Regions from separate parts of the Homo sapiens genome. Here all the other regions are linked to region 1. Evidence: promoter capture Hi-C in human tissues and cell types (Jung and others, 2019). All regions are on one chromosome and are shown on one strand. The core of a region is centred on a gene start or on the middle of the fragment in contact, and the rest is flanking DNA. Distances in the headings are between cores, read along the strand shown. Region 1 holds the start of KCNN2 (potassium calcium-activated channel subfamily N member 2). Region 2 holds the start of LOC101927078 (a long non-coding RNA gene). Region 3 has its middle 300 kb from the start of KCNN2.

Region 1 (3,386 bases), core at 442-2,941:
GTGATCTGTCAGATCACTCGGCCTCAAAACCAAAAGAGACGAGAGTAGACCTGGAAAGACTGGGAAGACGCGTGGCTGGGCTGCTGGGTCCACGCCATAGAGGACCGAAGCGAGCGCCGCTGTTCCAGGCTAGCAAAACCAGAGGAACTTACTTCTGAGTTCAAGAGAGCGGGTTGAAAGGGCCCTTCTAAACATAATTCACGAGGGGATGAATTACAGATGGTTTCCCCACCGACTTCCAGAACCACTTACTTAAGGTGCCCGAATGCGCTGAGCACTCTTAACTGCCTCGAGAACTTTGGCTGCACGCGGAAAGGGTTCATCTCCGAGTTGTTTAGCTGACTACGGATGCGCGTCCTAGACGCGCCCGCTGTCCTGGCGGGCTCCCTTGATCGTCCCGGAGAGGCTAGGGATCCGCACGCAAAGGGTCCCCGCCAGTGCCCATCCCAACCACCCAGTGCCCGACTCCGGTAGCGTGGGCTGGGGTTCAAGCCTGTACCTTGTCGTAGGCGCCCCACGACAGCTCGGTCTCGATGACCATGACCACGATGCCGAACATGCCGAAGATGAGCGCGTAGTCGCTGAGCCGCTTGCGCTTTTCGAACAGGGCGCGCCGGTGGCCCAGCTTGTAGCCGATGTTCTGGTTTTTCTTTTTGCTGGACTTGGTGCCACTGCTGCTGCCGTGCCCGCTCCCGCCACCGCCGCCGCCTCCTCCAGTGCTGCCTCCGCCGCCGGTTCCATAGAGCGCCAGGTTGTTGGAGTTGTTGTGCTCGGGCTTAGACACCACGATCTCGGGGGCTGAGGACGAAACAGCGGCGGCGGCGGCAGCGGCTGCAGACGGGGAGGACGCGCCGCCACCTCCTCCGACAGACGCGGGGGGCTGCAGGGGCTGCGCCTCTGAGTCCATCTCGTGCAGGTTCCGGCGGGACGCGCTCAAGTTGCTGAGCGGCCGCATGACGCCCCCGTTGTACCTGCAGCTGCTCATGGCTATTTCGGTGAAGGGGTTGCTCTCGCGGCGCGCCTGGGGCTGGTGGTGCTGGTGGTGCGCCGGGTGCGGGTGGTGGTGGTGGTGCGAGAGCGGGGGCCCGGAGCCCAGACTGCCGAGGCTGCCCGTGGGGCTGGCGGCGGGCTGCAGGCTGTGGCACTGGTGGTACTGGGAGGCGGACGCCGACTGCTGCGCGGACTGCTGCGCGTACTGCTGCCGGAGCGCACTGGCATGGCTGGACGGCGTCAGCTCGCTCACATTGAGCTGGCTGCCCCGGCGCGACGAGCAGCAGCAGCAGCAGCAGGACGAGCCCGACAGCGGCGAGGAGGTGCGGGTCCGGAAGGCGCCGCCGGGCGAGGAGGTGCGGAGCAGCAGGGACAGGTTATCTCCCGCCCCCGCCGCCGGGGCACCGGAGGAGGCGCAGCTGTTGCACCGGAGGCATGGGCTGCTGCCGCCGCTGGCCGGCTGCTGGTGCGCGAGGTGCGGGTGGTGGTGAGGGTGCGGGAGGGGCGCGAAGGGCGGGCACGGCTTGTCCTGGCTCTGTTGCTGCTGCTGGCAATGCAGGTGTGAGGAGCGCGGCGGCGGCGGCGGCTGCTCTGGGAAGAAGCCGCGCTGGAACTGCAATGGGGTTTCCATGTCAGGGCTGTTAAAGCTGCAGGGAGACCAAGCGGTGGTGCACCCTGCGCAATGCGTTATGGTCGGGAGCGGGGACTCCTGCTGCTGGTGCGAGGAAGGGCCCATGCCGGCTCCGGTAGAATCCAGGCGGCGAGTCCGATTGGTTGGGCGCACCAAAACAATGGGCATGACATCACCTGCGGGGACCGAGACTGAGTTTGCGGCGCGCGCGGCTTAGGGAAGCGTGTGTGGCAGAGAAAGATGGGGAGGGGAATCTGCAGGACAAACCCTAGGGGGGTGCAGTCCAGAGCCAGGGCGCTCCAGGGCAGGGATTCCGCCTGCTGATTGCGTGGAGATGGAGAGCCCCCACGCAGTGCAGCTGGGCTGCAGGGGGAGGAGAAAAGAGAAAGGCGCCCCTCCCTCCCGTGCCGCTGCCCCCTTGACTAGTGCCGGACGCGCTGCCCGGATCACCTGCGCCAGCCACTGCAGCACGTCGGGCCACCTTGGCCGGGGGCAGGCTCAGGGACGGTGTGGAACCCCGACCACTTCTCCGACTGCACGCCTCGCAGGGCTGCAAAACAGCAGCCCCCTCGTCCCACGCCCGCTTCTCCCAGATCATCCCGCCGAGAGTGGGCTGCCGGCTGCCCGCCAAGTAACTGCGGGGGCACTGGCTTTGGGGAGAAAAAGTTTGGCGACCGGCTGCGCCAGTGCAGCAGCGTGTGGGGAGAATCCCGGGGCCTGAGCCCTGCCTTGGCCGCTGCGGGATCATAGCCGACCCCGAGACCGGATCTTTCCCAGCCGGCAGGCTCTGGAATCTGGATTGGGTGCGCGGCGCTCTAGCCCAAGTGCGCTGCGGCGCGGGTAGGGTTAACCGCCTCGGCACCCCGGCCGGGGGTGGGTGGGGGCGGGGCCGGAGGAGGGGATCCCCGCAGTCTGCCGACAGAGCCGGCCGGGCTTCCCGGGTCCCCCCTGGCGGGGGCGGAGGGCTTTCCCCGCTACCGCCAGCTCACATTTGCGCCTTCTCCAGAACATGAGGGGATGGCGCCCCCGGCCGCCGGGTCCTGGGCTCTGGCGCTCAGGCCCTCCGGCAGCCCGAATCCGGAGGTCCCAGGGCTTCCTTGCCGGTGGAGAGGCAGGCGGCTCGCTCAAAGGTGTGGGGGCTGCTCAGCCACCGCCGGCCTCCAGCTGCTCTTCTGCTTCTCTTCCTCCTCCTCACCTGCAGCGCAGACACAAAGCAAAGACCGGTCACAAATACGCAAATATCGAGCATCTTTGCCAAGTCCTAACTGCAGCGGCGGGTGGGAAAGGGGCCTGGCGCGGGCTGATTCACCCCGGTAGTCGCAGCCTGGCAGGGAAATTAAGAATGATAGCTTGGGCTGAATAGTCGCTGCCCACGGACAGTGCTGGAGTTTTGTTGGAGTTCGGTATCATTATTTATTTATTTACTCTCTAATAAACTAACAAAAATTGCATTTGGTGTCTCACAAATTCCCTGTGCTGTCTTCTTCTAAGAGATGTACCAACACAATGCACTAGGTGATCCTTATGTTCTTTGTTTCTGCTCCATCTTAAGTCTTTACATTTGCATTTCTTTGTGAATTCAAATTCCCGTCTCCCCCTAAAGAAGGTGAAAGAAATTGGCCCGTTGAATATTTGTTTCCATTTTAAATTATTTTAAAGCCTGCTTTTCATGATAAAGACTATTACAACGAGTTAGACCTAGCAATTAGAGTGAAAGCGGATCACCCTCATTAGGTCATTAGGTAATTGGAATTCTCAGCTGGAT
Region 2 (3,386 bases), core at 238-2,737, 410 kb before region 1:
AGGTACTTGGGAGCCTCTCATCAGAAGGAAAACATCAAATAACACATGAAGGAGTTGATTGTTGTTGTATAACTGTATAAAGTGTTGGGAAGAAAAAAGGTAAGAGGGCTAAATTAGCAAGAAAATTGGAGAAGTTTGTATACAAGTAAAAACGACATGGATGGAGGCTGAAACAATGGAGGTAGAGGGATATGTTAGAACTTGGCATTGTTAGGCTAGTTATCCAGACAAAACAAAAACAAAATCAAAGATGTCTCCAAGGTTAAGACATTAGGGAACAAAGTGGAAATACCAGCCACTATAGGGAAGAAAAGAAAAGGAATAATTAGGGAATAAGCTATTTCTCACTTTAAATGGCAGCAAAACATTGGAGCGGAAAACCTGGACAGCTGGAGCTGGCAAGAAGCCTCGTAATCATTCAGACTGCTCATCCCAGAGATGAGGAGACTGGAGCACATACATTTCAATGAATTGCCTAGTCAGTGACACTTCTGGAACTACTATCTATATCTCTTGGGTTGTGTTTTATACCAAGTTGCCTTGTCAATGCCTTATAGACAATGAATGAAACAGAAGGGATATACTAGTGTTGTGGGTACCCCTGGAGCTAGAAGTCAGGATTCAGGATTATACTTACAGGGTGGAGAACCAAGGTTTGAGTATGAAGCGGAGTTCTGGAACTTCTCCTTTGTAACCTGGTGTATAACTATGGAGACATAATGGAAAGGACATTCAGGAAAGACCACTTAGCCAAAAGTTCCAACAGCAGTATTGTGCAACTGCAGGATGTTAGATGTGTGGGAGTTCCTGGGGAGCTCAAGCCAGAGGTGGGATGCACAAGTTCTGGGGCTAATCTTGAGGGTGTTTCATGTAGTTGTAATATACCTAAAAATTTTAAAGTGATCCTCTGGGAAGCCCAAGTATGGCTAATATGGGCCATACTTATGATTGGGCCAGATGTTTCAGTTGCCTTTGTCATCCTGACTAGAAATTTAGAAATTAGCTTGGTTAACTTGGCAACTTCCAGTGAACCCTCACATAATAATAGAGAAGTCTCTGGGGCCTTAGTTCTGTCAGCTGGTCAGAAGCCAAGCTTGGCTATTTTGAGAGTTTGATGGCCTCTCAGGGAGAAGAAGTAGGGATGATGACTGTCATTAATAGTCAATGACTCCAAGGGTTGATCTTGACTCTTTAGGACTATATTGGACAATCTTTCCCTATTCTGAGTTTCCCTGAGTTTCAGAACATCTCTGATTTGGTTCAGCTGTGTCTCCATGCAAATCTAATCTCGAATTGTAGCTCCTATAATTCCCTTGTGTTGTGGGAGGAACCCAGTGGGAGATAATTGCATCATGGGGGCAGTTTCCCCCATGCTGTTCTTGTAGCAGTGAATAAGCCTCACAAGATCTGATGGTTTAATAAGGGGAAGCCCCTTTCACTTGGCTGTCATTATTCTCTTGTCTGCCACCATGTAAGATGTGCTTTTCACCTTCTGCCATGATTGTAAGGCCCTGCTCAGCCACGTGGAACTGTAAGTACATTAAACCTCTTTCTTTTGTAAATTGCGCAGTCTATCAGCAGTAGGAAAACAGACTAATACAATCTCCTAGGGCCTCATAGAAAACCTTCTTTGTGAGCTATGTTTGACGGGGAGCTTCCAGCTCTGCTTAGCAGTTCTCAACAAGCTTTTCTGGGCTGGACCATCATGTCATTTGCCAGCCTCTTAACTAGAGAAGTCATCTGAAACTGGCTTATAAATGCACAGATTAGTAACATATTAGGGTTGGTTTCAGAGGGCTTGTTAAAAAAATAATTTCAGTGGCAGTATGCCTAGTAGGTAAGTGCACTCAGACTTGACTTTGGCCCTACTAGTTTTGTGATCTTGGGCAAATTGTTTAGCCCTTTTGAATTTCAATTTCTTCACCTGTAAAATGGACATAATAAAAATATTTATCTCATTGAGATTTGAGGATAATTGTGATCATGTATATGAGGTGCTTAACACTGGATAAACTCACTGGGAAGAATTTATTAAGAATTCACTAAATTAAATGTTATTATTTTTCTAACTTCTGGTAAGTTAAGGGCCTGGGCTGCATTTGAAGAATCCCTCAAAATTTTCAGTCCTGGAGTGCTGTGCATCTTTGACCAGCAACCTGGTTAAAATGTCATGAGACCACAGGTAGCCTGAGATGAAGCTCTTAAAACGTAGCAGGAAAAATATCCCCAGGCCTAAAGGAAACCCACTGATTCAAGTCTCCATGAATTCAGAAGGAAGAAAGAACAGGAAAGCAAGAGGTGAACTTAGCACCAGTTCCAAAGAAATAGGGTCTGTGAGTCGCTGTGAGGCTCTAAACCCTGGAATTAACTGGTCCCAAACATTGCATTACCAGGAATCTCAAGGACGAGATCTTTGGGTCTGGGCACTAATAGGAACAAAAGTATTTGGATGTCTAGGGGAGAGAGAAGTTTAGAAAATAGTCAAGCTTAAGTGGCCCAGAGATAAGAGGAAGGGACAATGCCAAGTGTTCTTAGGCAGTGAAGATAGTGGGCTTCAATAAAGGATAGGAAGAGGAAGCTTTGCTTATTGGGGAAACCCAGGAGCCAGGGCCCTGACATTTTAAGAAATCACTGAAAGCCAATTCCTGATATAGTCTGGGTAGTGTTTCTGGAGACATGGACCACTGTGGGATAAAGGCTGGGGTATTATTCCAAACTGCCAGGCCTGGTTGGTGGGACTGGTGATGCAGCACAGGGGAAGACCTGAAAGTTCTCGGAGATTCTGAACACAGAGAGCGTTCTTGCTGACCATGGACGTGTTAAGAATAACAACAGTGTCCTCAACAAAATACTAGCAAACTGAATTCAACAATACATTAAAAGATCATTCATTATGACCAAGTAAGATTTATCCCAAGGATGCAAGGATGGCTCAACATATACAAATCAATCAATGTGATACATCATATCAACAGAATGAAGGACAAAAACCGTACGATCATTTCAATTGGTTCTGAAAAAACATTTAATGAAATTCAACATTGCTTCATGATAAAAACCCTCAAAGAACTGGATATAGAAGGAACAAACCTCCACAACGCAAAAGGTATATACAACAGACTCACAGCTAGTGCCATACCAAGTTGGGAAAACCTGAAATCCTTTTCTCTAAAACCTGGAACAAGACAAGGAGGGCACTTTCACCATTGCTAATCAAAATAGTACTGGAAATCCTAGCTAGAGCAATCAGACAAGAGAAAGTTATAAAGGGCATCCAAATTGGAAATAAAGAAATCAATTATCCTGGCTTTCAGATGATGTAATCTTATATTTGGAAAAACCTAAAGACTCCACCAAAAAGCTATTAGGACTGATCAACACATTCA
Region 3 (3,386 bases), core at 589-3,088, 300 kb after region 1:
TGTCTCACATGGTGGCTCTCCCCACAAGGCTAGCTGGAGCTTCCTCACAGCACTGTGGACTTTGAATGGTTCTCCCTCTAGCATGGAGACTGGCTTCCCAGGAGGACACAAAAACCACCATCCTCTTAAGGCCTGGGCTCAGAAGCCTCAGAATGTCACTTTCACTGAGTTTTATTGTTCAAAGCAAGTCACAAAAGCAGCAGGACCCAAAGGGATGGGAAATAAACCCTACCTCTTGATGAGATGAACAGTGTGTCTGCACAAAGTGAGAGGCACTAGTAGCTGCCATCTTTGGAGACTATGTACCATGGGGGTTCCTAAATGTGTCTACATGTTAGAATCATCTGGGGATCTTTTTAAAACTATAAGCATCCAGGCCACTCCCCAAGCCAATTAATTCACAATCTCTGGGAGTAGAACACAAGCATTTCGTTAAGCTCTCCAGGTGATTCCAATCTGCGGACAAGTCTGGGAATCCCTGATCCACCATAAGTTGTGAGAAAAGAGATTTAGAAAAACTGAAGGCTCTAGCTGGCATTGCCTCTGTTACATGTGGTTACCTGTCATTTCACAGTATGCTCAATGGCTTGTCTTAAAACACACCAGGAGTTTAAAAGTTAGACTACACACCAATCACTTTAAATTACATTAAAGCTGCCATAGTAAACTAGCTTAGTATGCCTTTTAGGGTGACCAACTTTCCAGTTTGTCTGGGACTGAGTGGTTTCCTAGGACACAAGACTTTCAGTGCTAAAATCAGGATGGTCTGGGTCAAACTGGTGCAGCTGGTCAGCCTAGCATTGCCTTATCTCCCTCTGGTGGACTAGTCATGTTCTGATGAATTTTATTTCTGAAATGCAGTTCCATTATCCTCACCTGAGTCTTCTCAAAATTAGCTATCTAGGCCAGTGCTGCCTGAAGTATGTTCCACAGACTTGCAGCATCAGCATCACCTGGGAGCCTTTGTTAGAAATGGAAATTTGGAGGGGGGGTGGTTCTCTAGACACTGAGTCAGAATCTCTGGGAGTGGGACCCAGAAATCTGTGTTTTGAAAACCATGAATTTAAGAAGCACTGATCTGGGCTGCCATGCTTTCATCTTCCTCTGTCTCTACTATCCCACATATGGCAAAATCATATTTCTGTATTGCAACAGGCATATAAAAAGCATAGCAGGATGAGTCAATCAATGCTGACTGGCCAGAGATGCCCTGTCAAAGAGCAGCCTCAGCTGCAGACACATACATGATAATCATCATCTGGGGCTTAGTTTTTGTCAGTCATTTGTCTGAGGGGCTGCATGAAACTTTTTTACATCCACAGTAGGGGCTAGAGTGTGGAATGAGGGAGGAGCTGAGCACAGCTGCCTGCAGTTGCTAAGGCCTGTCTCTTTCAGGACACACTAAAACTGTCAATACAAGTGAGCAAATTTTTCTCTGACATGGAAAGAAAAAACTCTTCCTTAAAGTTAAGCAGAAAATCAAGCTTTATCTTTGACTGGATGCTTGATTTTTAATGGGAATTTATAGCAAAAATCATTCAGGTTTCAGTAATTTGGAAATCATGCTCTTTTGAATTAGCTTGGAATGAAGTTTACCTAAGTGCAATGAAGAGTTCTGTCTAGCAAATTAGTATCCTAACATTTTAACTGCCTTAAAAGAAAAACAGGGTTTTTTTAAGGACTTACCTGTTTATATTCAATGGATGTTAATAACTACATGTGAGGTCTTATACATGAAAGAAGAGACTAATGCAAAACACTTTTTAAGTATAATAACGCATGAATTGGAAGTAAAACAAAGATATTTATTAAAACACACACACCGTAATTGAGACTTTTTGCTAATTCAGACTGTTCTCCCTGCATATAGGACAAATTTCTTACTAGGATTTCTTCACCAGTCAATTAACATGTAACTTGATCCCTAGTACACTGAAGCAAATGAAAATTAAAAGGCCCTCTTCAAAACTCACTTTTCATAAACTTTGGCTCTTATTTCTCATGTGTTTCACAAACCTCATATTTAAAGTCGAAGAAAATGATCAGTAAACCTATTTTTCTCCTACATAAGACAATATAATCAAAGTTATTGTGGTAACAGGTCTGTGGAGGTAGGGTGCTCTTTCAGTACTTCTGAACCACTACAGCCAAAATCATCCTCTTGCTGCACTGCATGTCTGGCAGGAGGTCTTTGCGCTGCCCTGCCCAGATATTCTGTGGGCAGCAGAAATACTTACTGTAATAGTATCTTACACAAAGATAAAAACACAGAAGTAGATTAGGTAAATACATGTTGTTCTGGGCAACAAACTCATTTTCCCACATTATAACTACGTGACAAGTCTGTGAAGTTTACTTTCCTTGACTAAATTTTATAAAAAAAAAAAAAGAACCCATATATCTTAAATAAATAACCATAAGCAAATTTTAATCAATGATGTATTCTGTATGAGAAGATGTCTAAATATTTGATAAATGACCAATTACAGTTGGTCATCTTTGGGGAAATGTAAATAAGTCATTCAGTTTTTAAGGAGGATAAAGTGATTCCTGTATTTTTTCTCTAGTCAAGAAAAACATCCAGTTGACTGGACAAGCTTCGTAAAACTGTGCTATCTGAAGGTTCTTCTACCAGATCCTCCACTTCCCAGTTGCACAAGCATAGACAATCAACCTAATGTCTATCACCAATCCCTCTTCCCAGGGAAACCATCATGGTCCTCACCTGGGCTTTGCCTCCAGGCCAGTGCTAAAATTGAGTCCCAGAGATCAGAATGGTTGCACAAACCCACCTGAATGCAAGAGTTGTCCATGTATCTACAGAAAACAAAGGTCCCAACAGGGAAGCTAAACTTGGCCATCAAACCCAAGCAATGAACTCACAGAATCAAACCCCATGCCCACAAAGGTGGCAAACTAGATCCCTGAATGGGAACAGTGTACAAAAGGGCTGGAAGGACAAATCATGGCAGTGTCCTGCATGAGACACTTTTGCCTTCGTTATAGAGGCATCTGCTCAATGGAGTCTTAGATTTCATTTATAAAATGGGTGTAGTATCTCTACCTATCTCATAAAGTTGTGAAAATCAAATGAAATAATTAAAAGTAAACATTATTTGTAAACTGTAAATATATGTGCAAATACAAGGGACCACCATATTACTATATTCACACCATTCTTCTCAGCAGTAGTGGGGGTGGGGAGGTAGCGTCTTGGAGTTGGGGTACTAGGAGTGATCCCATGAATGTGTATTTGCAATTGTCTGTTTATTTGTCTGTCCCCCTGGCCAATAACTAGACTGTGATTTCCTTGAAAGCAGAGACTGTGTCTTAGTCATCACTGCATCCCCATTTGCATAGTAAGACATTCAATCACTGTTTATGGA

The links. Contacts are between HindIII fragments. The study calls those that stand out against the background at their distance.
Region 2: a contact is called between a fragment that was not itself captured here and the fragment with the promoter of KCNN2 in region 1, in 1 of the 25 tissues and cell types used here (dorsolateral prefrontal cortex).
Region 3: a contact is called between a fragment that was not itself captured here and the fragment with the promoter of KCNN2 in region 1, in 1 of the 25 tissues and cell types used here (aorta).

Annotation. Positions count from the first base shown.
Region 1 is chr5:114,360,375-114,363,760 of GRCh38, reverse strand. It overlaps KCNN2 (potassium calcium-activated channel subfamily N member 2), which reads right to left and starts at 1,691. Exons shown (of 8, transcript NM_021614.4): 1 at 500-1,691. The coding sequence starts at 1,621. RefSeq lists a silencer at 2,414-2,623 and an enhancer at 2,662-3,386. The HindIII fragment of the contact is 16,034 bases long and covers 1-3,386 here.
Region 2 is chr5:114,770,776-114,774,161 of GRCh38, reverse strand. LOC101927078 (a long non-coding RNA gene) reads left to right here and starts at 749. Exons shown (of 13, transcript NR_130785.1): 1 at 749-827. The HindIII fragment of the contact is 3,867 bases long and covers 1-3,386 here.
Region 3 is chr5:114,061,104-114,064,489 of GRCh38, reverse strand. It overlaps a transcript of KCNN2 not described here. Among named protein-coding and RNA genes, the nearest start is that of KCNN2, 300 kb to the left of the region's middle. The HindIII fragment of the contact is 4,033 bases long and covers 1-3,386 here.